Regions from separate parts of the Homo sapiens genome. Here all the other regions are linked to region 5. The links are contacts of gene promoters, found by promoter capture Hi-C in blood cells and fetal thymus (Javierre and others, 2016). All regions are on one chromosome and are shown on one strand. The core of a region is centred on a gene start or on the middle of the fragment in contact, and the rest is flanking DNA. Distances in the headings are between cores, read along the strand shown.

Region 1 (3,931 bases), core at 170-2,669, 690 kb before region 5:
TATAATAAAAATGCACTTCCTTTTTGTCTTAGTCTCTTTAGTTTTATGTGTCATGCTGCTCTCAAGCTATCTTTTCAATACTAAATGATGGAAAGAAAAATGCTTGTATTCATATTTGATTTTATTTCTTGGCTGGGCACAGGGAAGTGAAAACTCTGTAAAAATCCTAGAGTTGTTTTCAATTGTATTATTCACATTAACTACAGACATTTACCAAGTTGCCTCCGTGTACAGTAATAAAAAGCCTGTAATATGTATTCTAAAAATTATCCCAACATGCATCTAGGAATGATCAAATTTCTCTCATCCCATCATCAGCTTTTTGCTTTCCCCAATGCTCTTAGGAAAAGTCACTATAAAAAGTCTCCTCCTGCAGCGTGGACAACATAATAAGTCCCCATCTCTATAAAAATTTTAACAAAGTAGCCAGGCATGGTGGCCTGTGCCTGTAGTCCCAGCTACTCAAGACACTGAGGTGGGAGGACTGCTCGATCTCTGAGTCCAGGAGTTTGAGGCTTCAGTGAGATATGAACAAGCTACCACACTCCAGCCTGGGTGACAGAGTGAGACTCTGTCTCTTAAAAAAAAAAGTCTCCTCCTGACACTAATCCTTGGTCAGTAGACAGAAGAACTCTGTGCTTGGGAGAAAAGCACAAAATACCATCTGATCATACAGATCATACTCTTGCTAGCCACACACTGCGATTTATTTCTCTCTCTTTTCTCACAACCCACAACCAATCTGTTAAGAAATCCTATTGGCTCTACTGTCAAAATTTACTCAGAATCCTACCACTTCTCATCATTTCCTCTACCACCACCCTGCTTGGAGTCACCAGCATCTCTCACCTGTATGATGGCAATGGCTCTCAGACTCTGCACACTACCCCTGAATGACCACCTATTCTCAACATGGCAGCCAGAAAGATCACTGTCAGATGATCACGCCAGCCCTCATTCTGTTGCTTATAGTCCTGCAGTGGCTCCCAATCTCACTCCAAGTGAAAAGCTAATATCCTCAAAATGGCCTCCGAGGTTCTTCACAATCAATGAGGCCCCCTCTCCTCCTACTCCCCTCACTTATCTGTTCCAGCCACACTGGTTTCTCTCCCCTCCCCAGATATGCCAGGCTTATGCCCACCTCATGGCCTTTGCTCCAGTTTTTCCCTCAGCTAAGTGTGTTTTTCAAAAATGCCTATGAATTTTACCTTGGCTTTGCTGGTCTTGTTTAGATTAGAAACTTGATCAATCAATTGCTGGACAGAGTCAGAACTGACTTTTCCATCTTCCAAACGATGAAAGATTAATCGAGGTTTTCCTTCAGGGTTTTTCAGAAAAGCTTCTTCACAGTCTTCCAATAAAAGGCTAGATTGGAAATCAGCATTTTGTGTGCTATACTGCATTGTGGCAGCAAGCAGTTAGTTAATCAACCTAAGTGCCAATAATGGAGTTTTACTACAGTGACAAGTGGCCAGAAAAGGTCCAACTGCACAACAAGTGAAGCTTTCCAAAAATGGATGTGTTATGGCTCTCTTCCAGTTTGGTCTTAAAATATAATACATTCATTAGCCAACAGTGAGCATAAATATAATAAATTATGCATTAAATTGTAAAGCACATAAAACTTTATTTTTTAAACCTAAAAAAGATCTCAAAAATACTCTTAAACTTGGCTCAAAATAATGGACTAGACTCATGAGACTTTGAAAATAGATGGCAAACAAAATTCCATTTAAAAATGTATAATTTCCATGTTAACACAAGTAGGCAGGAGGTCATGCGTGGGTAGGTACACAGGCACCATCCAGGGCAACAGCCAGGCTCCTGCACTGCTTTTCCAGGAGTTCTTTTTAATGCCTTTAATTTGACCCGCCTCCCTTCATGGCTGAATCACAGGAGAAATCTCTTACAATGAAACATAGGAGCTAAAATATGGCATGTCCAGGAGAGGCCTTTATTCCAGATAAAGGTTTCAAAATGAGGAATTCTTTGCTCTTGATTGGCCCTCCTTCATTATGTCAGCACCCTTCTTGGGCAGACCAGGCTCACTAAGAATTCTTGAACCTATGTAGAAGGAGAGGTGCTTCTCTGTTTGGATGGCAGCCCCAAAGTTTTGAGAGTTTTCTCTTTCCCAGTTCTTTCAGACTTTTCTCATCTAATAAATGACCCTAATCCTTATACCCAATATATACTACAGGAAAGATCTGGAGACAGATTGGAAGAGGTTGGGTGACTGAGGTGAAGGTAAAAAAAATCCCAAAAAACAACTTTGTTATAGGGAACCAAAATTATATTTTTAATGAAAATTCTAGAAAAAAAAGTCCTAGAACTAATAATCTGCTGAGGTCTTCTCTCTCCCTCCCTTCTTTCTTTCTCTCCCTTTTTTTTTTTTTTTTTTTTTTTTTTTTGAGACAGGGTCTCACTCTGTCACCCAGCCTGGTGTGCAGTGGTGCAATCACAGCTCACCGCAGCTTTAACCTCCTGGGCTCAAGCGATCCTCCCACCTCAGCCTACCGAGTAGCTAGGCCCACAGGCACACGCCACCACACCCAGCTAATTTTTGTATTTTTTGTAGAGATGGGGTTTCACCATGTTGCCCAGGCAAGTCTTGAATTCCTGGGCTCAAGTGATCCTCTCACCTTGGCCTCCCAAAGTGCTGGGATTATAGGCATGAGCCACTGAGTGCAGCCCACATCTACTGGGGTTTTCTACACAACAAAGGACACTGCGACCAATTCCCCTTTCTAGAAAGCATTAAATGAAAGTTGTCTAGGGAAACAAATGTTTTTGTGGGGGGTGTGTGTGTGTGTATGTGTAGAAGGGCGATATTGTATGATTCAGAATCTGCAAATTAGACTACTAGCCCAAAATATTAAAAATTAAGAAACATTCTGTTGTATATTTCTGCGCCAATCCATTCTACCCAAACCACAGAAGTTTTCTATATTAAAATCACTCTGGCCATGTTCTATCGAATTTTGGAATTTCAATGATTCATCTGTCAGTGCTTTGTGGGAAAAGTCTGTGGCCCATTAGAAGACCAAACAATGGGCTTGCTGTTCAGGCACACGTCCATATTTCAAGGCATTCCCTACAAAACTGACCCATGGGGCTCAGATAAAATGGTATGATCTCTGGTATTTTATTCAAATAATCTGGTGGAACGGAAGCAGATGCTACAGATGAAACAACGAGTCATGAGGTGATAATTGCTGAAGTTAGATAGTATAACAGGCCAGCTAATATGTTGATAAGTTGCACTTTAGGATCCCTTCAGAAAGTAGCCTGAGCAGACAAAAATGTAGGGGAGGAGCTGCAAGAGAAGATGTAGCTTTGTGGGGCTGGAGGAGTTAAAACAGTAAAGCTGAGGCATAATGAAGAAAGTTCAAGTATAGAACAAACAAGGGCTTCCACTTGCCTAAATTCTATAACGAAACTCTATAGGTGATCTGGTAAAAAAAAAAAAAAAGCTGAATGAAACCAATAATAGGGCCTAAGAAGTCCTGAAAGGTGACTGAATTACTATTTAGGCACGGAAGCCTCCCCATCCCTTGAGAAAGACTGATGATGCCCTGAGGAAAACCAGTCACAGTCGCCCCTCTGTGCTGCTGTGCAAAGGGAGAGGCACCTCTCCTTCTACGTAGGTTCAAGCTTTCTTAGTGAGTCTGGTCTGCCCAACAAGGGTGCTGATGTAATGAAAGAGGGCCAATCATGAGCAAAGAATTCCTCATTTTTAAACCTTTATCTGGAATATTCCTACTCAGCCAGCCTCTCCCGGACTCACCCTATTTCAGTTCCCATTCTTCGTTGTAGGAGATTTCTCCCGGGATTTTTCTCCTTCCATGAAGTGAGGCTGGTCAAATTAAAGGCATTAAAGAAGAACCCCTGGAAAAGCAGTGCAGGAGCCTGGCCGTTTCCCTCTAATGCACCT
Region 2 (3,846 bases), core at 1,167-3,666, 640 kb before region 5:
TTTTAATTATCATAGATATGTCTACGATAGATAATTTAATTAAAACACCTTGAATATATCTGCAAAAATAAAATGAGATATTTCTCGATGTTTTCCAATTATCACCCTGTGAATTTTACAAGAAAGAAGGAGTGTTATATTCAAAGTGGCTCACACCTCTAATCCTAGCAATTTGGCAGGCTGAGGTGGGTGGATTGCTTGAGCCCAGGAGTTTGAGACTAGCCTGGGCAACATAGTGAAACCTTGTCTCCAGAAAAAATGCAAAAATTAATTGAGCATGGTGGCATGCACCCTTAATCCCAGCTACTCAGGAGGCTGAGGTAGGAGGATCACATGGGCCAGGGAGGTGGAGGTGGCAGCGACCAGTGATTGTGCCACTGCACTCCAGCCTGGGCAACAGAACAAGACCCTGTATCAAAAATCAAACAAAACAAAAAAACAAACAATAACTCAACCTCAACAAATGGATATATGAAGAAACTGAGTCATAGAGCAGTGAAATTTCTATCAAAGATTATTCAATGGTGTGGCTACAGAAACTGATAAAACCTTTAGTAGGAAATGAAACACTGCAAATGGATGCAGCTACCTACAGTCAACCTCCATGATCTCCTCCCTGATGATTCTATAATTATTTTTCCTCATTTTGAGTTTTTATCACACACTAAATCACGGTCATTCTTATGTTGTTTATTTTTGTTTAAATGTTGTTTATAATTGTTTAAAATTATTTTTTATCTATGCGTGGTTTTGGACATAGATTGTGGCTGCTAGGGAGCAAGGACTACAACTTTTGTTTATTTTTTATCTCAGTGTATGGGGTTCAGAGATAAGCATGTGCTTAGGGGGCAGTGGATGTTTAGTTGGTTATAATTCTGTGTTTTGTATTTTGTACTGTTTGGAGTGGAAAGCTCCTGATATAACTCTGTTGATTGATGGTCAGTAAAGTAACCCAAGACCAAAGAGGTCTTCTGTCTGAGTCTCTCATCCTGCCATATCTGCAGGAAGGTACTATAGTAGGAAGAGAAGAAAAAGCATGCTTTAGGATAAACTTTTGAAAAACTTAGGTGTCAGAACTTAACAATGGTCTTCCAACTTCAAATTCCATATGTTGTCTACCTGTTCCTTAAAAAACACAGGCTGGGCATTTGGGATATAGGGTCAAATTCCCAAATATCCTGGGAGTGTGTATTATGTACAGAAATATTTTCTAACATTAAAATCAAGAAATGGGAAAACAACTAAAATGCTTTTACAGTGGTTTACAAATTTAAAAAGATAATTGAATATTATAATATTTCAATAGCGAAAGTGATTAAAAAAATTCAAAATCCTGATTAAAAAAAAATCCTTGCCATTGTGGAAATACTCGATTTTTATTTCTTCAGTCAAGTACTTCAGTTTGTATTCCAGTTTATGAGCAGCCAGTTGTTGAAATATTAGTGCCTAGTCAAGGTCAAACATCTCACAGAAGGAACATTATTCTAAAATGCAACACTTCTGTGCAACTGGAGTGTGTATTTCATGAGCAGAATCCATTTGATTGGATTCTCTCATATTCACAAAACCCAGACTCATCTTGAATTGATAGCAAGAATGCTCTCTAACAACTATGGAATCATCTATGATCCACTTCTTTAGATATTACCTCATTTGGCCCTTGGTTGGGTAGAAGAGTCATTATTATTAACATGCATGTTTGAAAGTGAGGATCCCAAAGCCATTGTCAAACAAATTATTGTTCAAGGCACAAGTTCATAAGAGTATTGGAGGGTCATTTAATCAAATGCTTATCATGTGTCAGAATGATCAACTGGCATTAGGTTTTTTATATATTAGATAATGTATAAAAATTATATTTTATATATAAGATAAAGTATATGGGTTAAGAACATGGGTTGTGGTTTCAAATCCCTGTGTGATCTCTACTAATTCTATGACTTTGGGCAAATATAAAAACTTTTAAATATGAAGAAAATAATATCACTTACTTCCTAGAAAATTGAATCAGTTAAGGGATATACGGCTCTTAGCACCTATTTGCCCTCAATAAATAAAGCTCTCAGTAATCTAACCTAAACCACCCCCCCATACACCTTACCACAAACAACAACCCTTTGAGTAGAGCTGTTTTAATCTTCTTTCTTTATAATCACTCCTTGGCTAATCTCATCCAGTCTTATGGGTCCGAATATTGTTTATTCATTGATGGTTTCCGAATGTATATCTCCAATCTGGACCTCTTCCCTGAACTTGTATATCTAACTGCCTACTTGACACCTTCTTCTGTATGACTAATAGGCATCTAAAATGTAACATATCTAGAAATGAGTTCCTGATGTTCTCCTTCATCCAGCAGCTCCTGCAACCTTCCTGCTCCTAGGTCACGGCAATGCCACGCTTCCAGTCACTCAGGCCAGAAACATTGGTGTTCTTGACATCTCTTTACACTGCCTACTTCTCTCTTACACTCAACATTGGGTCTAGAAGTAAAATCTGTTGGTTCTACTTGCAAAATATGTTATCACTGAGTAACATACTATACATCATACAGTTTTTTTTTTCTTTTTTTTTCCATCTTTTTTTTTATTATACTTTAAGTTTTAGGGTACATGTGCACATTGTGCAGGTTAGTTACATATGTATACATGTGGCATGCTAGTGCACTGCACCCACTAACTCGTCATCTAGCATTAGGTATATCTCCCAATGCTATCCCTCCCCCCTCCCCCCACCCCACAACGGTCCCCAGAGTGTGATATTCCCCTTCCTGTGTCCATGTGATCTCATTGTTCAATTCCCACCTATGAGTGAGAATATGCGGTGCTTGGTTTTTTGTTCTTGCGATAGTTTACTGAGAATGATGTTTTCCAATTTCATCCATGTCCCTACAAAGGACATGAACTCATCATTTTTTATGGCTGCATAGTATTCCATGGTGTATGTGTGCCACAATTTCTTAATCCAGTCTATCATTGTTGGACATTTGGGTTGGTTCCAAGTCTTTGCTATTGTGAATAATGCCGCAATAAACATACGTGTGCATGTGTCTTTATAGCAGCATGATTTATAGTCCTTTGGGTATATACCCAGTAATGGGATGGCTGGGTCAAATGGTATTTCTAGTTCTAGATCCCTGAGGAATCGCCACACTGACTTCCACAATGGTTGAACTAGTTTACAGTCCCATCAACAGTGTAAAAGTGTTCCTATTTCTCCACATCCTCTCCAGCACCTGTTGTTTCCTGACCTTTTAATGATTGCCATTCTAACTGGTGTGAGATGGTATCTCATTGTGGTTTTGATTTGCATTTCTCTGATGGCCAGTGATGATGAGCATTTCTTCATGTGTTTTTTGGCTGCATAAATGTCTTCTTTTGAGAAGTGTCTGTTCATGTCCTTCGCCCACTTTTTGATGGGGTTGTTTGTTTTTTCTTGTAAATTTGTTTGACTTCATCGTAGATTCTGGATATTAGCCCTTTGTCAGATGAGTAGATTGTGAAAATTTTCTCCCATTTTGTAGGTTGCCTGTTCACTCTGATGGTAGTTTCTTTTGCTGTGCAGAAGCTCTTTAGTTTAATTAGATCCCATTTGTCAATTTTGTCTTTTGTTGCCATTGCTTTTGGTGTTTTAGACATGAAGTCCTTGCCCATGCCCATGTCCTGAATGGTAATGCCTAGGTTTTCTTCTAGGGTTTTTATGGTTTTAGGTCTAACGTTTAAGTCTTTAATCCATCTTGAATTGATTTTTGTATAAGGTGTAAGGAACGGATCCAGTTTCAGCTTTCTACATATGGCTAGCCAGTTTTCCCAGCACCATTTATTAAATAGGGAATCCTTTCCCCAT
Region 3 (4,126 bases), core at 1,588-4,087, 660 kb before region 5:
CCATGTAGTTCTCTTATAGGAAAACCTTAGCTATGTAAAATACCACCCCAAACCCATAAGTGGAAAAAGAGAAAAGTAATTTTGGTAAAATTCTAAACACTTTCCATGTCCAGCATTCATCTAACTCACAGGAGAGGATCCATGAAGATCCTATGCTCTATTGTGTTGGACCTTGGCTTTCAAATTTATAATAGATTAGAAAAGACTGGACAAAGTGGAAACATTGGCAGTAGTGAAAACTACAGCTGTGGCCTGAAGTCGAGAAAGGAAGCTGGAAAACCACAAAAATTAGATAGGATAATTTTCTTTAAAAAAGAAGTAGTTTAGCACCTTTAGCAGTTCTGCAGTCCCTGAGAACATTATAGGCTAGTATAACGATCAATGTTCATAATAATGGTCCTTAATTGTCAGTAAAATATATATTATGTGGTTTGTAGTTGATGTAAGTATATTGGCAAGTGTATAATAATTTATAAAAACTTCTCTGCTAAGTAGCTAATATGTTGTCTTAAAAAAGATGTTGGTGACCCTTCATCAGAGAAACTTCTATTATCTTGAAACTTCAGTATTTGGAACATCTGTGATAAGTCAGTTACTTTCACTAATGCCAATGTGTGTGTGGTGAGGGGTTGGGTGTGGGTGGGGTGTGTACATACAAATAAATAAAAAGATTTGTTATGATATAGTTAAGTAAAAACATCCCCTTTCAACTCTACATCGGGAGAGTCAGTTACCAAAGGTATAAAAATTCTTAATTCTAGTATGGTTTCACAGAACATTGCTACAGTGAAGTCTCAGAAGATAAAACCACATCTATCAAATACTATTTCCCTGGGTTAGGAACAAACATCCTTTGAGTAAATAACAGCCTTCTTCACCTGAAGAAATAAAACTTCGCACTTCCCATCATCACCTAAAAAAGGTGATTTTTGTCATTCTCCCTCTGCATTAAATTATCCTGAATGTTTCAGCTTCTTAAAGTAAATTGGCTTCCCCAGAACTAGCTGTGTTTTTGAAATTATGTTTCTTTCCTTAGAAATAATTTCCATATATTATTGAGCTCTACTACAAAGTTTCTATCCTGGGTAATTTTTCTTCTGCAACTTTGTGGATTTAAATATAATAGTTACATAGGCCACATATATATTGACAATATTTATTATAAATTCTTGTGACTTAAGTTTTAATTTTTTCCTCATTTTTTTTCAAAACAAACCAAAGGCCTATATCCAACAGATGCTGAAGTTTTACTTCCATTTAAAAGGAATATATATATATAGCATATAAATATATATTTTATATTAAAAGAAATATAAATATATATTGCATATGAATATATACTTTGTGTATAAATATATAGATAATAAATATATGTATGTGTAAATATATATGTTTATTATGTATATTACCTTTACATAATAGTATACATATATATATCTTGCCTTTATTTGGATTAATCAAGTATTTTTAAATGTTATTTCATTTGTCCATATTAGCTTGTTACATATTTATGTATTAATCTTCTAGTAGTTATTCTAAACATTTCCACATATATCCTTGGTTATTCAGTTTATCATTATTTAGAACTTTTAGTATTTCATGGATAATGCAAGAATTTAAAAACTGAAACTTCATTTACCCCATTTTCAATTTTTATGCTTTTGTTGTCAAGTATCTTCTTTCTCTATTTTAAGTTTTATCAAACATAACTGTTTTTATATAGTGAGCATTTGTTCATATTGATGTCCTTTCACCGTTTCTGCTGCTCTTCATTCCGTGCTGCTTTCCTCTGCTTCCATTTGGGGCCATTTTCTTTTTCTGTTTCTGTTTCTTTTTTTTTTTTTAATTATACTTTAAGTTCTAGGGTACATGTGCACAACGTGCAGGTTTGTTACATAGGTATACATGTGCCATGTTGGTCTGTTGCACCCATCAACTCATCATTTACATTAGATATTTCTCCTAATGCTATCCCTCCTCCAGCCCCCCACCCACAGACAGGCCTGGGTGTGTGATGTTCCCCGCCCTGTGTCCAAGTGTTCTCATTGTTCAGTTCCCACCTATGAGTGAGAACATGCTGTGTTTGATTTTCTGTCCTTGTCATAGTTTGCTGAGAATGATGGTTTCCAGCTTCATTCACATCCCTGCAAAGGACATGAACTCATCCTTTTTTATGGCTGCATAGTATTCCATGGTGTATATGTGCCACAATTTCTTAATCGAGTCTATCATTGATGGACATTTGGGTTGGTTCCAAGTCCTTCCTATTGTGAATAGTGCCACAATAAACTTATGTGTGCATGTGTCTTTATAGTAGCATGATTTATAATCCTTTGGGTATATACCCAGTAATGGGATCACTGGGTCAAATGGTATTTCTAGTTCTAGAACCTTGAGGAATTGCCACACTGTCTTCCACAGTGGTTGAACTAGTTTACACTCCCACCAACAGTGTAAAAATGTTCCTATTTCTCCACATCCTCTCCAGCATCTGTTGTTTCCTGACTTTTTAATGATTGCCATTCTGACTGGTGTGAGATGATATCTCTTGTGGTTTTGATTTGCATTTCTCTGATGACCAGTGATGATGAGCATTTTTTCTTGTGTCTGTTGGCTGCATAAATGTCTTCTTTTGAGAGGTGTCTGTTCATTTCCTTTGCCAACTTTTCGATGGGGTTGTTTGTTTTTTTCTTGTACGTTTGTTTAAGTTCTTTGTAGATTCTGGATATTAGCCCTTTGTCAGATGGGTAGATTGCAAAAATTTTCTCCCATTCTGTAAGTTGCCTGTTCACTCCGATGGGAGTTTCTTTTGCCATGCAGAAGCTCTTTAGTTTAATTAGATCCCATTTGTCAATTTTGGCTTTTGTTGCCATTGCTTTTGGTGTTTTAGTCATGAAGTCCTTGCCCATGCCTATGTCCTGAATGGCATTGCCTAGGTTTTCTTCTAGGGTTTTTATGGTTTTAGGTCTAACATTTAAGTCTTTAATCCATCTTGAATTAATTTTTGTGTAAGGTGTAAGGAAGGGATCCAGTTTCAGCTTTCTACATATGGCTAGCCAGTTTTCCCAGCACCATTTATTAAAGAGGGAATCCTTTCCCCATTTCTTGTTTTTGTCAGGTTTGTCAAAGATCAGATGGTTGTAGATGTGTGGTGTTATTTCTGAGGCCTCTGTTCTGTTCCATTGGTCTATATCTCTGTTTTGGCACCAGTACCATGCTGCTTTGGTTACTGTAGCCTTAAAGTATAGTTTGAAGTCAGGTAGCATGATGCCTCCAGCTTTGTTCTTTTCGCTTAGGATTGTCTTGGCAATGTGGGCTCTTTTTTGGTTCCATATGAACTTCAAAGTAGTTTTCTCCAATTCTGTGAAGAAAGTCATTGGTAGCTTGATGGGGATGGCATTGAATCTATAAATTACCTTGGGCAGTGTGGCCATTTTCATGACGTTGTTTCTTCCTGTCCATGAGCATAGAATGTTCTTCCATTTGTTTGTGTCCTCTTTTATTTCGTTGAGCAGTGGTTTGTAGTTCTCCTTGAAGAGGTCCTTCACATCCCTTGTAAGTTGGATTCCTAGGTATTTTATTCTGTTTGTAGCAATTGTGAATGGGAGTTCACTCATGAGTTGGCTCGCTGTCTGTTATTGGGGTATAAGAATGCTTGTGTTTTTTGCACATTGATTTTGTATCCTGAGACTTTGCTGAAGTTGCTTATCAGCTTAAGGAGATTTTGGGCTGAGACGATGGGGTTTTCTAAATATACAATCATGTCATCTGCAAACAGGGACGATTTGACTTCCTCTTTTCCTAATTGAATACCCTTTATTTTTGTCTCTTGCCTAATTGCCCTGGCCAGAACTTCCAACACTTTATTGAATTGGAGTGGTGAGAGATGGCATCCTTGTCTTGTGCCAGTTTTCAAAGGGAATGCTTCCAGTTTTTGCCCATTCAGTATGATATTGGCTGTGGGTTTGTCATAAATAGCTCTTATTATTTTGAGATACGTTCCATCAATACCTAGTTTATTGAGAGTTTTTAGCATGAAGGGGTGTTGAATTTTGTCGAAGGCTTTTTCTGCATCTATTGAGATAATCATGTGGTTTTCGTCATTGGTACTGTTTATGTGATGGAT
Region 4 (3,695 bases), core at 1-2,500, 730 kb before region 5:
TATATTAAATATTACATATAATACATGTGTGCATATTCATACGTGAATATATGTGAATGTCAGTTACTCCCTGCATTTGGAATAGCTTTTATTAAATGATACAATGGTAGTGGCATATTTATTTATGAAACATTAACTGAATGATTTAAATCTTTGCAAGTCTGTCCAGTGGATGGAGACTTAAACACACTTGTTTCTACTATCTTGATTTAAGTCTTACCAAAAATAAACCAATGTGACTAAACAGTAATTATTGTTAATGTAATTAAACATTAGTGTTACTGTAAATTTTACATTTACATAAAATGTTAACATTTATATTAGTGTTAATATAAAACACATTAACAGTACTTAAAAAAGATTCTTGAAATCTGCTTTTAGATACCTCTGCTATCCAAAAACAAATATCCAGCAACTGTACTATCTAAACTGTAGCTAAAAAGAAGGAAAAAGATTTCTTTGCTGCTGAAATTTATGTCACAGTTTATGAATCAACTCATACTTTATTAAAAGCAGAGCCCCTTTAGGTGTTCTCTAATTCAGGCTATTTATTTTCCCTCATTTTACAACTTTAATAAGCTTAGTTGTATTCCCTAAGCCTCCAATATAATAAGAACAAACTGCAACAAGACACAAGGAGGTACCAATCAATAAGAAGTGTCAGTTGCGAGCAAAGAAATTGAAAAAAGCATACATATAAACTCTCAAAGTAATGGTCTAGGGCTATTTCATATAAGAGCAAATAGCCTGTTTAGACAGTAGTAGGCCCTGTCTAAACAAAACATTTTATAGTATGATACAAAAAAGGAGAAAAGAATCATGGCTAACAAAGTATTCCCTTAAGGATGTGTCCTATTTAGCTAGCCCCTCTATTGATGGTCATTTAGGCTACTTAATTCTTTTCTTTTTTATTAACAATGCTATAGGCTACATCTTGTATATATCTTTGAATACTAGATTGATCACTCTTCTTTTTGTTTTTTTGGAGACAAGGTCTCACTGTGTTGCCCAAGCTGAAGTTCAGTGGCTCAGTCATGGCTCACTGCAGCCTCAACCTCCTGAGCTCAAGTGATCCTCCCACCTCAGCCTTCCAAGTAGTTGGAAGTACGAGTGTATGCCACAATGCCTGGCTAATTTTTGTATTTTTTGTAGAGACAAGGTTTCACCATGTTGCTCAGGCTGTTCTTGAACTCCTGAGCTCAAGTAATCTGCCCACCTCAGCCTCCCAAAGTGTTGGGATTACAGGCGTGAGCCACTGTGCCCAGCCTAGAGTTTTCTATAGTACTTTTTTTTTTTTTTTTAAACAGGGTTTCACTCTGTCACCCAGGCTGGAGTGCAGAGGCACAAAGGCACAATCTCGGCTAACTGCAGTCTTCCAGGTTCAAGTGATCCTCCTACCTCAGCCTCCCAGGTAGCTGTGACTACAAGCACCCACCACCACGCCCAGCTAATGTTTTTGTATTTTTTGTAGAAACAAAGTCTCCTTGTTTTCCAGGCTGGTCTTGAACTCCTGGGCTCGAGCAGTCTGCCCATATCGACCTTCTAAAGTGCTAGGAGTTACAGGCATGAGCCACTGCACACGGCCTATAGTACACATTTTTTAAAGTAGAATTTCTGAATTTACGAAATATTTACTAAATTTCTCCTGCAAAAGGATTATACATTTGTATCATAGTTTAGGAGTACCTGGTTCACCCATACCTTTGATAACTTTGAGTATCATCAAACTCTGTAATCTGTCATTCTGGTGGGTAAAAAACAGGCATTTAATTTTTCTTTTTATTTGTGAAAAAGGTTGAACACTTACATTCTTCTGTGAATTATCTGCTAATAGTTGTTGCTCTTTTTTGTCTTGTATATTAAGAATGTGTATTTGCAAATATTTTTGTCATTTATCTTTTTTATGTGATTTTCTCTGTATAGAAGCTTTTATTATGTTAGTGCAAAGGTAATTGTGGATTTTGCCATTACTTTTAACAAAAACTGCAATTACTTTTGCGCCAACCTAATAAAAGACATCAGATTGGCCGGGTGCAGTGGCTCACGCCTGTAATCCCAACAATTTGGGAGGCCAAGGCAGGCGGATTGCTTGAGCCCAGGAATTTGAGACCAGCTTGGGCAACATGGCAAAGCCCCATCTTTACAAAAAAAAAATACAAAAATTAGCCAAGCGTGGTGGTGCTTGCCTGTAGTCGCAGCTACTTGGGAGGCTGAGATGGGATTGCTTGAGCCTGGGAGGGCGAGGCTACAGTGAGCCATGATCACGCCACCTTACTCCAGCCTGGGCAACAGAGTAAAAAGTATCAGATTTGACTGGGAAGAGGGCAGGAGGGAGCTGGAGGCACATGGGATGCTGAAAATGTTCTGTATCTTGATCTGGTGATGGTTACATGAAAGGCTCATACAAAATTTTATTGAGCTATACATTTAAGATTGTGCATTTTATAGTAAGTTACATACAAAATGTTAAAATTAAGTAGCTTTCTTAATTATCTCAGGGATTTAAAAAATACACTTCTCCCACATTTTAGCTTCTCTGAAATCAGCATGCTTCTTGAAGTTGTTGACGTGTAATTGTTTAGCTGCCAGCATTTTATCTTTATTAGAGGTTCAAAAAAATAGTGTGTTCTACAGTTGATGAAATGGAGTAATCTTTTCTTTCCTTCATTCAATAAACACTGAAGTATCTACTATGAGCCAGGCACTGTAAATAAGATAAAATTTCTGTTTTCTGGATGCAGATTTCTGTTTTCTGGTTAAAAAAAATATATAATTACCTATTTCAACGTTATTTTTAAAAAATTTAGGTGTTCTAGTATTTTTCATGTTTTAAATTTCTTTATTTAAGTCTATTTTGATTTTTCTAGGTTTCTGTTAAATTTTGGTACTGTTAGTTTTTACCTTGGATACAATGCAATGCAGGATTTTTTTCCTACTATGTCCATGAAGCCAAATCCTCAGTGTGATGACAGAAATTGCAGGAAGCAGCAGGAGGAATATAAGGTATATGACAATCTGTTAGAATGCATGAGGGATCATATTGAATAGGACAATACATAAACAGATTTGGAATACAAGATAAATGGTTAATTTATTCACCATACTTCAAAAATGAATGTTCTTTCTTGCTTTTGGTAAGATAAAAAGCCTGTCTGAATTCTTGATTAATGCTTTAGAGAACTGAGAATGAGTAAGAACACTTTGATGCTGTTTGATTTCTACAGAAAAAGGTAGCAGCACTGCCTAAACAAGAGGTTATACAAGAAGAGGAAGAGATAATCCATGAAGATAATGAATGGGGTAGGTATTCTTTTATAAATTGAAATGGCAGTATAAAACAAAACCTTTTATGGTAGCAAATCTAATAAGATTATACAAATTGAATAATTATTGCTTATTAAATTCCTTAAAAACTGACATAGGATCAAATTTACAGGTATTGAGCTGGTATCTGAGGTTTCAGAAGAGGAACTGAAAAATTTTTCAGGTCCAGTTCCAGACTTACCTGAAGGAATTACAGTGGCATACACAATTCCAAAAAAGGTACTTCAAAAATATGATTTACCCATATGTAAATATCATATAAAATATTTATCATCTTCATTCTAATTTGTAATGCCAATGAAGTATTTCCTGTTTTAGATATTTTATGCTATAGGCATTAAGATGTGAGAGAGAGGTATGCAGTGTTAATA
Region 5 (3,670 bases), core at 646-3,145:
ACACATTTGTGCACAACTTAATCAGTAGCCTGAACTTTTCATTCAGCCTTGGACAATACATCTTGGAATTCACAATAATGCAGATCCTCAGAACCAAGTCAGTGTCATCCGTATAGGAGGCTGTTACTGTAACACAGGCTCGCATGCCCCTTCTGGGTGCATCAGGGGTGGTGTTCACAGCATTAATGCTACATCTGAATAAACAAGGACACTACTGGCCTTTACTTAATCCAATTGGTTCTTTCATCTGTTCATCAAATAGCCAACACTGATATTTATAAAATACCTCCCAGGCCATCTCAGAGAGACAAAGTGGAAGACAATAAAGAAAGGAAGGGTTGGAGTGTCCTGGTCAGTAGGAAGGAAGTGCACACAGGGTCCTCTAGTAGGCGACCAGGTTTTTTACCTCTACCTGCGTGACCTCAGGTAGGTACTCTGCTCTCTGGGTGGTGGGCAACAGGGAGGCTCCTAAGTAAGTCAGTGGCCCAGAGTTTGGAAGAGGTTGTCTGCCCCCAGCTCTGCTACTTTCTGGACATAGAACCTTGGGCAAGTCATTGCAGCTCTCGGGGTCCTCCTCACATAAGAGGACAGTGGCCAACTGTAGGACATGTCATTTTAGAGCTGTGAGGTACACAGCCCATATGGCAGTACCTGTCAACCCTGGACCTCCTTCCTCCTGAGGTTGAGTTGAGAATTCCACGAAATAAACCATAGGATTCATGCACACACCAGGCTGGATCTGCTACTCACTAGAGATTGACTCCCTTCTCCTTCTCTCACCTGAGGTACATTCCTACATTACAGCATCTGGAAAAGTATCCAGCTCTGGGGTTTGGTGACCTGGTTTCTCCAGGGTAAAACTTATGTACAGAGGTTTTTAGGTCCATGTTGTCATCCTGTAACTGGGGGAACCTTTCTGATCCTAGAGAAGTGATTGAGGTGTGACCCTTGGTGGCTTAGTGGATGCCAAGGTCAATAATTAAAACCCAGGGGTGTCATCATATCCTAACTTGGGGCACCCTTGGAGAGGCTTACCAGAAAACACCCTCGTTGTTGTTTTTATTTCTCAGTTTTCCAACAGATGGAGAAGCAGAGGTGTAGGGAATGGCCGGAACATGTGTGGGATCTGAATTTGCCCAAGGTCCTTATCTGGTGCATCAGAGAGTTAAAGGCCCAAGCCAATGTTCAGACAGTGAGGTCCAGAGGGAGGAAGCATCCTGGCCAACAGCAAGCAGCTGATGAACAGCAGAGCATTAGAGGACAGAGATGAGGAGGAAAGGAGAGAGGTGAGGGAAGGACCTGAAGCTGCTGCCAGGACTGAGAGAGGAAACCATAGGCAAGTCTTTTCTCTTGGGTCCCTGGAGCTGCCTCCTGCCATTTTTCATCCTCTATTGCCTGTGTGGACATGTGTTCACATTCACATGTGCCAGCACACATAGGGATGTAGAAAGCCCTGAAATAGCTAGATTGAGTCCTAGCTTGTAATCTGAGGTCTGGGGCAAGTGATCAGTACACTTGTCATCTGAGGTCCTTGAGCCTCAGTTTACTCATCTGTAAAATGGGGTTGCTTGATGCCTGCCTTGCCCACTTAGGTAGTAAAATGCACAAACCCAAATGGTCTACCTCCACAGCCTGCACTGATCCAGCCTCCCCCACCACCAGCAGAATAATCTGGGAGGTTGGGCACATGACCCTGCATCAAAGAATGCATGAGTGCCTCTCTGCACACAGCCCTGGGCAGTGCCCATTTCTCTTTCAGCTCAGTGAATGATGGAAACTCATGGAAGACAGCAGACAAAGCAGCCCCAGGGATAGGGGAGATTCCAGAGAGGCCCGTGACCAGGCCACAGGGATGCTGGGGCTGTAAACCAAAAGCCACTGGACTCTGTAAACCCACTGGGCACCACAGAGGCAGAAGGGGTGATGAGTGAGAGGCGAGTGGTAGTGGACTTGCCCACCAGTGCCAGCTCCAGCATGCCCCTCCAGAGGCGCAGGGCGTCCTTCAGGGGGCCACGGTCATCATCCTCCCTGGAGAGCCCCCCAGCCTCCAGGACCAATGCCATGAGTGGCCTTGTCCGAGCACCCGGGGTCTATGTAGGAACAGCACCCAGTGGGTGCATAGGTGGCTTGGGTGCCCGTGTGACCCGCCGGGCCCTCGGCATCAGCAGTGTCTTCCTTCAGGGCCTGCGGAGCTCAGGCCTGGCCACCGTGCCGGCTCCAGGTTTGGAGAGGGACCATGGTGCTGTTGAGGACCTAGGGGGCTGCCTGGTGGAATATATGGCCAAAGTGCACGCCCTTGAGCAAGTCAGTCAGGAGCTGGAAACACAACTGCGGATGCACCTGGAGAGCAAAGCCACACGCTCGGGAAACTGGGGTGCCCTACGGGCTTCCTGGGCCAGCAGCTGCCAGCAGGTAAGTGTCCAGGCTGTGCCAAGGGCTTTGCAGAGGGCTGGGAGGGGCTGCTGAAGGCAGCGGGTAGGGTTGTGAGTAGGCTGAGGCCAGAGAAACTGACCATAATCCCCTACACTTTCACACTTAAAATGGTAATGATAACAACAATGCTACCTTTTACCGAGGTTTACTAGGAGCCCACGCTAGCCCCCATACGTGCACTACCCACTGTCTTCTTTAAACTTCAAAGAAATGCTATGCAGTGGATCATTCACTGATTGCATTTTTCAGATGAGAAACTGAGGCATGTAATTTGCCCAAGACTTCAAAGCTAGTAGAGGGATGGAGATGAGATTTGAACCTGAATTTTTGTGCCTCCAAAGTTGCATTTGCCCCATTACCCTGGGGCTGCCTCAGTCACCTTTACTGTTGAGAAGGGATTTTTACAGCTATTATCCAATCAAATACCATTGGATGGATGAGGTGTTAAGAACAATGAATAAATGGAGGTGTGTTCCTGTATCCACCTACAACCACGCTGTTCAATAGAAATATGAACTACATTGGTAATTGACAAGTTTCTATTACCCACAGTAAAACACGTAAAAAGAAGCAGGTGAAGTTAATATTATAGCTTATTTAACTCTATATGTCCAGAATGTTATTTCAACATGTAATCAATACAAAATATATTAATGAGGTAATTTACATTCAAGTAGAGCTTTCTGCGTGATGGAAATATTAATATCTTATATCTGCACTGTCCAATCTGGCAGCCACTAGCCATATATGGCTATCAAGCACTTGAAATGTGGCTAATGAGACTGAGGAATTGCATTTTTATTTTATCTAATTTTCATTAATTTAAATGTAAACAGCCACAGGTAGCTAATGGCTATCTTATTGGACAGGGAAGGATGCAGAGGTTTCATCTTTCTCCCTTGCTTGGTCAGCCCTGCTTTTCCCACTCTCCAGGGTGATTTCTGCGGAGTCTGGAGCACATCCATCATGTCTGGCCTGCAGCCTGTAGTTCTAATGCTGGGACTCCAGCCAGCATTACACCTCTCAGCTGGTCTCTCTGTGGATAGCTGGCTTCACCTCTCCTCCTCCTCTTTCTCTCCAGATGCTGGCCTTGGGATCCCTCTGAGCAAAATCAGTCTCTAACCCACCAGGGACTGCCAACTCAGACCCTTGGCCCCCTGGAGTCCAGTATGCAGCCTCCCAAGAGGAGGTCACAAAATTTTATTTGTGTATAGCTGGGGGAAGCTAAGCAGTTGCA
Region 6 (4,115 bases), core at 1-2,500, 710 kb before region 5:
GTATTACTGATCTAAAAAATCTTACTTATTTTGTTTCTGGTACAAAGTTGCAAGTGCTTCAAGTTCACGAGCAGTATATGGATGGTCCGCACCATAAGCATTTTCTGAGATTTCCAACGCCTGTTTATACAGTTGTTCTGCATTGCCAAACTTCTTCCACTGCACGTATACACTTGCTAGTTGGTGGAGGGACTGGGCTACTCTTGGGTGATCGGGATCTAAAGCTGTTTCTCGAATCTCTAAAGACCTCTGCAAAGGTACTATGGCCTGGGGGGAAAAGGGGTGAAAGGCCAGTTAAAGTGAGTGAAATGCTGCAAGATCTGTCATCTGATTAAATATTAAGGATTATAGCACAACAAATGAAAACCACATTAACATCTTGGAAAAAGAGAAGAGTGAACACAAAAATCCCACCTGTCTCTGGCTTGCCATTGATCTGCTGAGCTTACCTGACTGAGAAGGCCTAGATCCTTGAGAAATCGCCCCAAGGTTTCATAAAGATCAGCTAAGCAACTCATGTTGTCCTCGCCTTCGCAGTTTTTCTCATACTGCTTCAATGAATCGAAGTATTCTGTTGCCATTGCACTTTTGTCTTTGCCAACAAACTGCCAATAACTCAGCAACTCAGCAAAGTGTCCCCTGTTTCAACAAATAACAGTACTTTAATGAAAAACACACTTTAAAATCCATTACAGAATCAAAACTCCAGAATTAATATCAAGTTATTGACAATTTATTAGTAGGCGAGTACTGTGTAATGAGGTAAGACTCAGACCACTCACTATCTGAATTCCACCACTATCCTAGCTATGTAATCTTGAGCAGGTTATCTGACCTCTTAGACCTCATCACCTTCATCTGCAGAAATGGAGACACTACCTGCCTCAGCTGGTACTGTAGGGGGATTATGGCACACAGTAAGTACTCCACGGTGTTGGCTGTTATCCTTAATACCATCATGGCTACTTACCAATGGGAATCTATCTGAATCCTTTTTACACATTTCACAATATGGAGCCAACCACTGAGTTCACTCCCAAAATTATTTTAAGTATGGAAATTCAAAGAGAAGAAACTAATAAAAAATAAACTGTCACAGAGTATCTACTTTGTATTTTCATCAAGAAATTGAATGACAAAAGTAAGCTTATTCATCTGTAGGCGATCTTAAGTAGTATGGGGCTGGTAAACTAAAAAATATCTGATTTCAAAGGAATCATGAAAAATTGGAATGGAGATCAGAAATAAGAGATGCAACAAATTTGAGAGAGTTTATGTAGGAGCAAAATAAATTATGATACTTATTGTATAAGAAATGTCTAAATCTCTAAGTAAGGCAGAAAAAAACCCTCATGAAGCTTAGTAGGTTAGACAGTTGCCTCATAAAAAGGTAGTTCTGCCACTGACAAACTATAACATATCAAAAGAGACAAACAGAATACATTTTTGAATTAGGGTAATTCTTTCTTTAAATTCAACACCAGACATAGAAAGTAAACAAACAAACAAAAACAAATAAATTCAACACCAGACAGATTCTACTTGGACCCGAGTCTGGTTTGAAGGCTACGCTTTCAGATATCTGAAGGCCCAAAGAAGCAGACATTACGAACCACCTCTCTGAGTGGTTTAAATTTAGACATGCTTAAATGTAAGCATAAGATAAAAAGTTGAACCGAAATCATTCCAGCTCTGATTTCATAAAGCAGCAGTACTCTATGTTTTCCTCTTGGGAAAAGCAGATCTAATAGAGATTTGTAAATTGTCTCAAGATTTCTCCTACACTATTTGTATTTCAGATACTTAGACTAATTTTTAAATTAAAAATACCATTTTTTCTTTGTTAAACTGAACAACTTTAAATCTCTCTTTCTGGGGAAAGATGTTCTATAATGTTTCTTACCTTTTATAAAGGTTTTGAGACACAAAGAGATTAAGAAGGCAATCATGCAGCTTCTGTTTACTTCCCTGCTGCTGAAAAAGCCACGGGAGTTCATCTGCACTTCTCCAAGTCACTCTGTCCTGACTATCAAAAGAGAGGAGACAATATTCAATATCTTCCTACAATGAGACTGCTTCAAAAAGGCTTCAGGCAAATGTCAAAGGAAGAAAAATATTTAACATATATCTCTGATTCTTTAAGTATAATTTAATACTAAAAAAGTTAGGTCAAAATCAGAGACTTTACCAATCTAAGAAAATAAATTCAGTGATATGCAGAACCATCAACCAAACTCTAAAAGTATTTTCCTAAAATTGAACTATTTAAAAAAACACTCAATGGACCCGTATATACACATACAGATACATGGACACAAACTATTGGAATAAAATAAAAATAATAAAATGATCCTACATTGATTTTCCTTGTTTAAACTTTTAGCATAATATTAAAAGACAAAATCATCTTTTGCTCTTTTGACATTAACAGAATAGGGAGAGGATTTAATCTTTTTTGTAATAATTAAGTTTTTGTACTTTAAGTTGTAAGCTAAGAAACAGAAATAAGGACACAAAGGTAGTGTGTTGCAGAAGTTACAGAAGAACAACAGGAACATTTACAATACCTTAGCTGCAAGGTGAAATAGTTGATTAGCTTTTGCCTGTATGAAGAAGTAACAGTGGGGCCTTCCAGGTACTCCAATCTCACTGTTTCCCAAGCCTAGGGAGAAAAAGAAGAAATACTGAGTTCTATTTCACGTAAGTCACTGTACATCTAACAAGAGATTTGCAAAAAAGAATTTATAATTATTCCTATTTTATAGCTGTATAATAGAAATGTCACTTAAATGTTTTTAAATTTAGGACATATTTATTTGATAAACTGTTACTAGAATAAAAATTTCTGTACTAATATTTATAAGCTCAAAACACAATTTAATTCAAACTTTAGTTAATACATTAAAAATCTCAGAAGTGTGGAATGAAAAGTTACTAAAAAGAATAAATTATATTCAAACAATACACAATAAAGAAAGGAAAAAGGCTGTGAAATTGCAAACATTTCACATCTACAAATATGATACAGCATACTCAAATGTAAGACTTCATTTACAATTGTATATATATATAAATCAACCATGGCATTGCAGATGATAGGAATTATTTTAGCCAAAACTTCCTAAAGATTTACTTCTATGTGCTAAACATCTTTCTAGTACCTCACAAGGACCAAGAACGACCTCAATTAATTTGCTTCACAACCCCTTTCATAAACTGCCAAAGTCCGCCTGGGGCTTAGATCTTGCCCAAGTTTAGATAGGCATTAATCCATGAAAAGGAGGCTGACTGGCTTACAGAGTCCAAACTCTTAATACATATACAGTCATGTGCACATAACAATGTTTTGGTCAACAACAAACTGCATACATGATGATGATCCTATAAAATTATAATGAAGCTGCCCTATACAGGCATACCGTTTTAAAACTTTCATACCACATTTTTACTGTAACTTTTCTGTATTTAGATACACAAATACTTACAGTTACACACAGTATTCAGTACAGTAATATGCTGTGCAGGTTTGTAGCCTGGGAGCAATAGGCCATACCATATAGCCTCCATGTGTGGTAGGCTGTACCATCTAGATTTGTGTAAGTACGCTCTACAATGCTCACACAATGATACAATCACCTAATGATGTGTTTCTCAGAACATATCCCCATTGTTAAGCAATGCATGACTGTATAATAATACCGCAATTCAATGAAACATAATTGAAAAAGACTTTTTTTCTCTTCAAGAAATAAACTACCTTTAAGAAACTTTTTTTGATCTTTTGTGTCTGACTTATTTTTTAATTTTAAAAATTGTATTGTGGTAAGACCACTTAACGTGAGATCTACCCTCTTAATAAATTTTTAAGTGTACTACAGTATTGTTAACTATAGGGACAATGTTGTATAGCAGATCTTTAGAATTTATTCCTTTGGCAGAAATAATCTTGCCACTGCACTCCAGCCTGGGTGACAGAGAAGACCCTGTTTCTTAAATAAATAAATAAAAAGATGCCTAAAATAACATTACCTGCAGATGTTGAAACCTAAGCAAGCCACATCCATAAGTCAACAAACACATTTTGTATAAACTGTGAATAAGGGAGGTCAAGAAAG
Region 7 (3,769 bases), core at 322-2,821, 800 kb before region 5:
AAACATCACTGATCATTAGAGAAATGCAAATCAAAATCACAATGAGATACCATCTCACACCAGTCAAAATGGCTATTATTAAAAACTCAAAAAATTACAGCTGCTGGTGAGGTTGTGAAGAAAAAGGAGCACTTACAAACTGTTGGTGGGAGTGTAGAAAACAGTGTGGCAATTCCTCAAAGACCTAAAGACAGAAATATCATTCGAGCCAACAATTCCATTACTGGGTATATACCCAAAGGAATATAAATTATTCTATTATAAAGACACATGCATGCATATGTCCATTGCAGCACTATGCACAATAGCAAAGACATGGAATCAACCTAAATATTTGCCCATCAATGATAGACTGGACAAAGAAAATGTGGTACATATACAGCATGGAATACTATGTAGCCATAAAAAAGAATGAGATCATGTTCTTTGCAGGCACGTGGATGGAGCTGGAGACCATTATCCTTAGCAAACTAACAAAGGGACAGAAAGCTAAATACTGCATGTTCTCACTTATAAGTGGGAGCTAAGATGAGAACACATGGACACATGGAGGGAAACACACTGGGGCCTATCAAAGGGTAGAGGGTGGTAGAGAAAGAGGATCAGGAAAAATAACTAATGGGTACTAGGCTCAATACCTGGGTGATAAAATAATCTGCACAACAAACCCCCATGATACATGTTTACCTGTGTAACAAACTTGCATGTGTACCCCTGAACTTAAAAGTTTTTTTTTAAAAAAGAGAAAAATAGAAAAAATGGCATGGGTCTGAAATAATTTCTGCAGGTGGAGACTGAGCCTGGCCTTGCATGAAAAAATAGATAACTGCCATGCAAATTTGAGGAAAGCCAAGTTCAAATAGACCATGAGGGCCAAATCAGCATAAATTTCTCTTCTTTCTCTAACTTACTTGTGTGGAAATGTGGAAAAAATAAACAGCCTCCCAGACTGAAGGATTTTGAAGGTTCATATTCTAGCTTTGGGAAAAAAGGTAACAAGAAAGCAAGAGAGTTTAAAGCCATGGGAAAATACTCTGGGACAAGGATAGAGAAAGTACAGTGAAGCCAGGAAGACTCTAGTAGTTTAAATAAATATTAAATGATGTGGCATAAAAATGTTAAATTCTATTGCAAATACCTAATGATTACTTATAATTTAATCTTTGATAATTTAGTCTTCAAAAAGATATTTTCCTTGGTTAAAATCATATTTGCTTTCTTCCTTAGGCAAAATAACTTTAGAGAGTATTTCTCTAGATGCTACCTACAAGTGCTGCCTAGATGCCCTCAGGTGGATTCTCCTTCTGGTTCAGCAGTCAGTAGCTCAGCTGCAGGCACTTTCTTGTCCCCTTTGACTAAGTGGAAACTATGAAAGGTCTATAGTTTTTGAAAAAAGATGGATTTTCTCAAATTTGTAACCTAAACCACTTAAGAAGTTGAATTTAACTTCACAGATGGTTTTACAGGAAATAAAATATCAAGTGCTCACAAGGTTAAATTTCAGGAAAGCCTTCTTGGATACAAGATAAAGGCGGGGTGTAAAGTGAAAACAAAAGTAGCTGGAGTTAGGTCATTTGATTTTATACTCTGTACTCAAGACTGCTCCTCTCTGCCGACTACAACAGGTTGGTACTTTATTTCTTTTCTTATTCTGACTTGAATATTTTTTTAAGCCCAAAGATCTTGTATATTTACTTATATAGATGGAGTCTTGATGCATAAAAGTTTAAATGCTTACTTGTAAAAAAAAAAAAAAGGGTTACTTGAAAATAGCTGTACAGTTTAACCTTAAATGAAAATCTTAATATAGCAAGAAGAAAATACGATTTTAAATGCCATTACTTGTCGGTAAAACTTTGTTAAGGAGAAAATAGGTTTTATTATACCACTTTTTTTCACTTTCTTTTACAAGTACTGATTTTTTTTTTATTCTCATGGTAATTATAAAGACACTTAAAAGCGTGTCTATATATCTGCCGGAAGGATCATTTCTGCAAATAATTCCATTTCTACTCTTTTTTACTCACATTTTTAGTAAGATTAATTCTTACTTAAAAATTCCCTTCCTTAATATATTATAATATTTGGCCATATTATTTCTTATCATCAGGTTCAAGATTTTCTGATGAAAGAGAAAGGAAGAACAAGGTTCATACTGTGTTAATAATTAATGCATAAGAACATGAAGACCAGAGTAGTCTTCCAGATTGGAACTTTTTAAGTAACTTTAATGATAAAAAGAGTCATTTAAAAAAGTTGGCACCCGGTTTTTACATAATGAAAGCAATTCTTCTATGTGGTGTCTTTCTTCAGAGCCTTCTTTTCTTTGCTATATTCATTCAAAAAAAGTTAGCAAACATAAGAACATTTCTTTTGAAAATGTACTATAAGTTGGCACACTGTTTTAAAAATAATATTTTCATTATTGATTCTATAAGAATATTTGAGATACTTCAGAGGACAAAAAGAACCCAAGGAAAATAGAAAGGATAAGAAAAAGGAAAACAAAATTCAGCACTATAATAAAAACACTGAAAGTCATTATTTTATACATTCCAAAACTTACGAATTCTGTGCAAGCTTATCTTAATACTACGGGGTGCTAGTAGCCAACATAGTGCAATAACAATGTTGACATAGAAGATTTCTGGCATACTATCTATCCATTCTAGAGTAACAGCTTTATACCTGTTGGCAAAAGCTTTAATTTGACAAATATTTACTGAGAAGCTACTTTGTGCCAGGCACATTAACAAGATTTTATTTACAAACACAAATCAAATAGGTCATGCTTTGAGGAACTTAAAACCTAGAGGAACAAGGTAGTATGGGAAACGCATCCTTTCCACAGAATGGATCAGTTCTCTGAGGGGTATGTAGAGATTGCTAATACATCAGGAAAGTCTTCTGGGGAGGTCGCATCCGCGTTTATTGAGTAGGAATTGGCCCTTCCAGGGAAGGGCAGGAAATTGTATGGTAGATAAAGGAACAGAATGAGCAATGATGTAGACAGATGCTGCTGCATGGTGGGTGCCAGCCCACTGCTGAGAAATTAGTCCTATCACTGTCTCTAGTGTGGACACAGAGTAGGGAGAGGTGGCAGGAGCCATGGATGGCACCACATTATGAAGGGAGCCTTGGGTGTTATGCTAAGGAGCTTGGATTGTGGCTTTCAGGTGAAGAGATGTGTCTTCCAGATGAGGAACAAAACAGAGGAGAGGTAGATTGGCAATTTAGAGATCAAATACTCTGGTGGAAGTAAGAAAAACGTTTTTGAAAAGGAGGTATTGAGGAGGAGTAACAACAGGCTATCAGTTAGAAAGATACTGCTTGGCCAGGTGCAGTGGCTCATGCCTGTTACTCCAACTCTTTGCGAGGCCAAGGCAGGTAGATTGCTTGAGCCCAGGAGTTTGAGACCAGCCTTGGCAACCTGGCAAAACCCCGTCTCTATCAAAAATACAAAAAGTTATACAGACTCATAACCTGGTCAATAAATAAATAAATAAATGGATTAAAATTTAAAAATAGGCTGGGCTCGGTGGCTCACGCCTGTAATCCCAGCACTTTGGGAGGCCGAGGCAGGTGGATCACGAGGTCAGGAGTGCGAGAACAGTCTGGCCAACATAGTGAAACCCCATCTCTACTAAAAATAGAAAAAATTAGCCAGGCATGGTGGTGTGTACCTGTAATCCCAGCTACTTGGGAGGCTGAGGCAGGAGAATCGCATGAACCCGGGAGGCGGAGGTTGCAGTGAGCCGAGATTGTCCAC

Evidence for each region. Contacts are between HindIII fragments. The CHiCAGO score rates a contact against its expected background, and 5 or more counts as called.
Region 1: a fragment that was not itself captured here is called in contact with the fragment with the promoter of BFSP2 in region 5 in 1 of 17 cell types (fetal thymus); the score reaches 5.1 in fetal thymus.
Region 2: a fragment that was not itself captured here is called in contact with the fragment with the promoter of BFSP2 in region 5 in 7 of 17 cell types (megakaryocytes, naive CD4 T cells, naive CD8 T cells and 4 more); the score reaches 9.3 in megakaryocytes.
Region 3: a fragment that was not itself captured here is called in contact with the fragment with the promoter of BFSP2 in region 5 in 14 of 17 cell types (megakaryocytes, total CD4 T cells, M1 macrophages and 11 more); the score reaches 11.8 in megakaryocytes.
Region 4: a fragment that was not itself captured here is called in contact with the fragment with the promoter of BFSP2 in region 5 in 1 of 17 cell types (megakaryocytes); the score reaches 5.3 in megakaryocytes.
Region 6: a fragment that was not itself captured here is called in contact with the fragment with the promoter of BFSP2 in region 5 in 1 of 17 cell types (erythroblasts); the score reaches 5.2 in erythroblasts.
Region 7: a contact is called between the fragment with the promoter of ACKR4 here and the fragment with the promoter of BFSP2 in region 5, in 7 of 17 cell types (total CD8 T cells, naive CD8 T cells, naive CD4 T cells and 4 more). The highest score is 9.8, in total CD8 T cells.

What each region holds. Positions count from the first base shown.
Region 1 is chr3:132,706,893-132,710,823 of GRCh38, forward strand. NPHP3 (nephrocystin 3) reads right to left here. Exons shown (of 27, transcript NM_153240.5): 7 at 1,209-1,365. NPHP3-ACAD11 (NPHP3-ACAD11 readthrough (NMD candidate)) reads right to left here. Exons shown (of 45, transcript NR_037804.1): 7 at 1,209-1,365. Among named protein-coding and RNA genes, the nearest start is that of NPHP3-AS1, 13 kb to the right of the region's middle. The HindIII fragment of the contact is 164 bases long and covers 1,338-1,501 here.
Region 2 is chr3:132,758,078-132,761,923 of GRCh38, forward strand. All of the region lies in intron 3 of NPHP3-AS1 (NPHP3 antisense RNA 1), which reads left to right. Among named protein-coding and RNA genes, the nearest start is that of NPHP3-ACAD11, 38 kb to the left of the region's middle. The HindIII fragment of the contact is 5,036 bases long and covers 1-3,846 here.
Region 3 is chr3:132,739,313-132,743,438 of GRCh38, forward strand. The region is part of intron 3 of NPHP3-AS1 (NPHP3 antisense RNA 1); the gene reads left to right. Among named protein-coding and RNA genes, the nearest start is that of NPHP3-ACAD11, 19 kb to the left of the region's middle. The HindIII fragment of the contact is 6,523 bases long and covers 1-4,126 here.
Region 4 is chr3:132,672,381-132,676,075 of GRCh38, forward strand. UBA5 (ubiquitin like modifier activating enzyme 5) reads left to right here. Exons shown (of 12, transcript NM_024818.6): 9 at 2,868-3,003; 10 at 3,225-3,300; 11 at 3,437-3,543. The region is part of intron 26 of NPHP3-ACAD11 (NPHP3-ACAD11 readthrough (NMD candidate)); the gene reads right to left. Among named protein-coding and RNA genes, the nearest start is that of UBA5, 14 kb to the left of the region's middle. The HindIII fragment of the contact is 1,347 bases long and covers 578-1,924 here.
Region 5 is chr3:133,398,161-133,401,830 of GRCh38, forward strand. It overlaps BFSP2 (beaded filament structural protein 2), which reads left to right and starts at 1,896. Exons shown (of 7, transcript NM_003571.4): 1 at 1,896-2,412. The coding sequence starts at 1,924. The HindIII fragment of the contact is 8,153 bases long and covers 1-3,670 here.
Region 6 is chr3:132,688,625-132,692,739 of GRCh38, forward strand. NPHP3 (nephrocystin 3) reads right to left here. Exons shown (of 27, transcript NM_153240.5): 17 at 4,030-4,115; 18 at 2,568-2,662; 19 at 1,904-2,026; 20 at 450-639; 21 at 26-267. It overlaps NPHP3-ACAD11 (NPHP3-ACAD11 readthrough (NMD candidate)), which reads right to left. Exons shown (of 45, transcript NR_037804.1): 16 at 4,030-4,115; 17 at 2,568-2,662; 18 at 1,904-2,026; 19 at 450-639; 20 at 26-267. Among named protein-coding and RNA genes, the nearest start is that of UBA5, 30 kb to the left of the region's middle. The HindIII fragment of the contact is 212 bases long and covers 1,145-1,356 here.
Region 7 is chr3:132,595,699-132,599,467 of GRCh38, forward strand. ACKR4 (atypical chemokine receptor 4) reads left to right here and starts at 1,572. Exons shown (of 2, transcript NM_016557.4): 1 at 1,572-1,625. The region is part of intron 13 of ACAD11 (acyl-CoA dehydrogenase family member 11); the gene reads right to left. The region is part of intron 39 of NPHP3-ACAD11 (NPHP3-ACAD11 readthrough (NMD candidate)); the gene reads right to left. The HindIII fragment of the contact is 3,278 bases long and covers 1-2,578 here.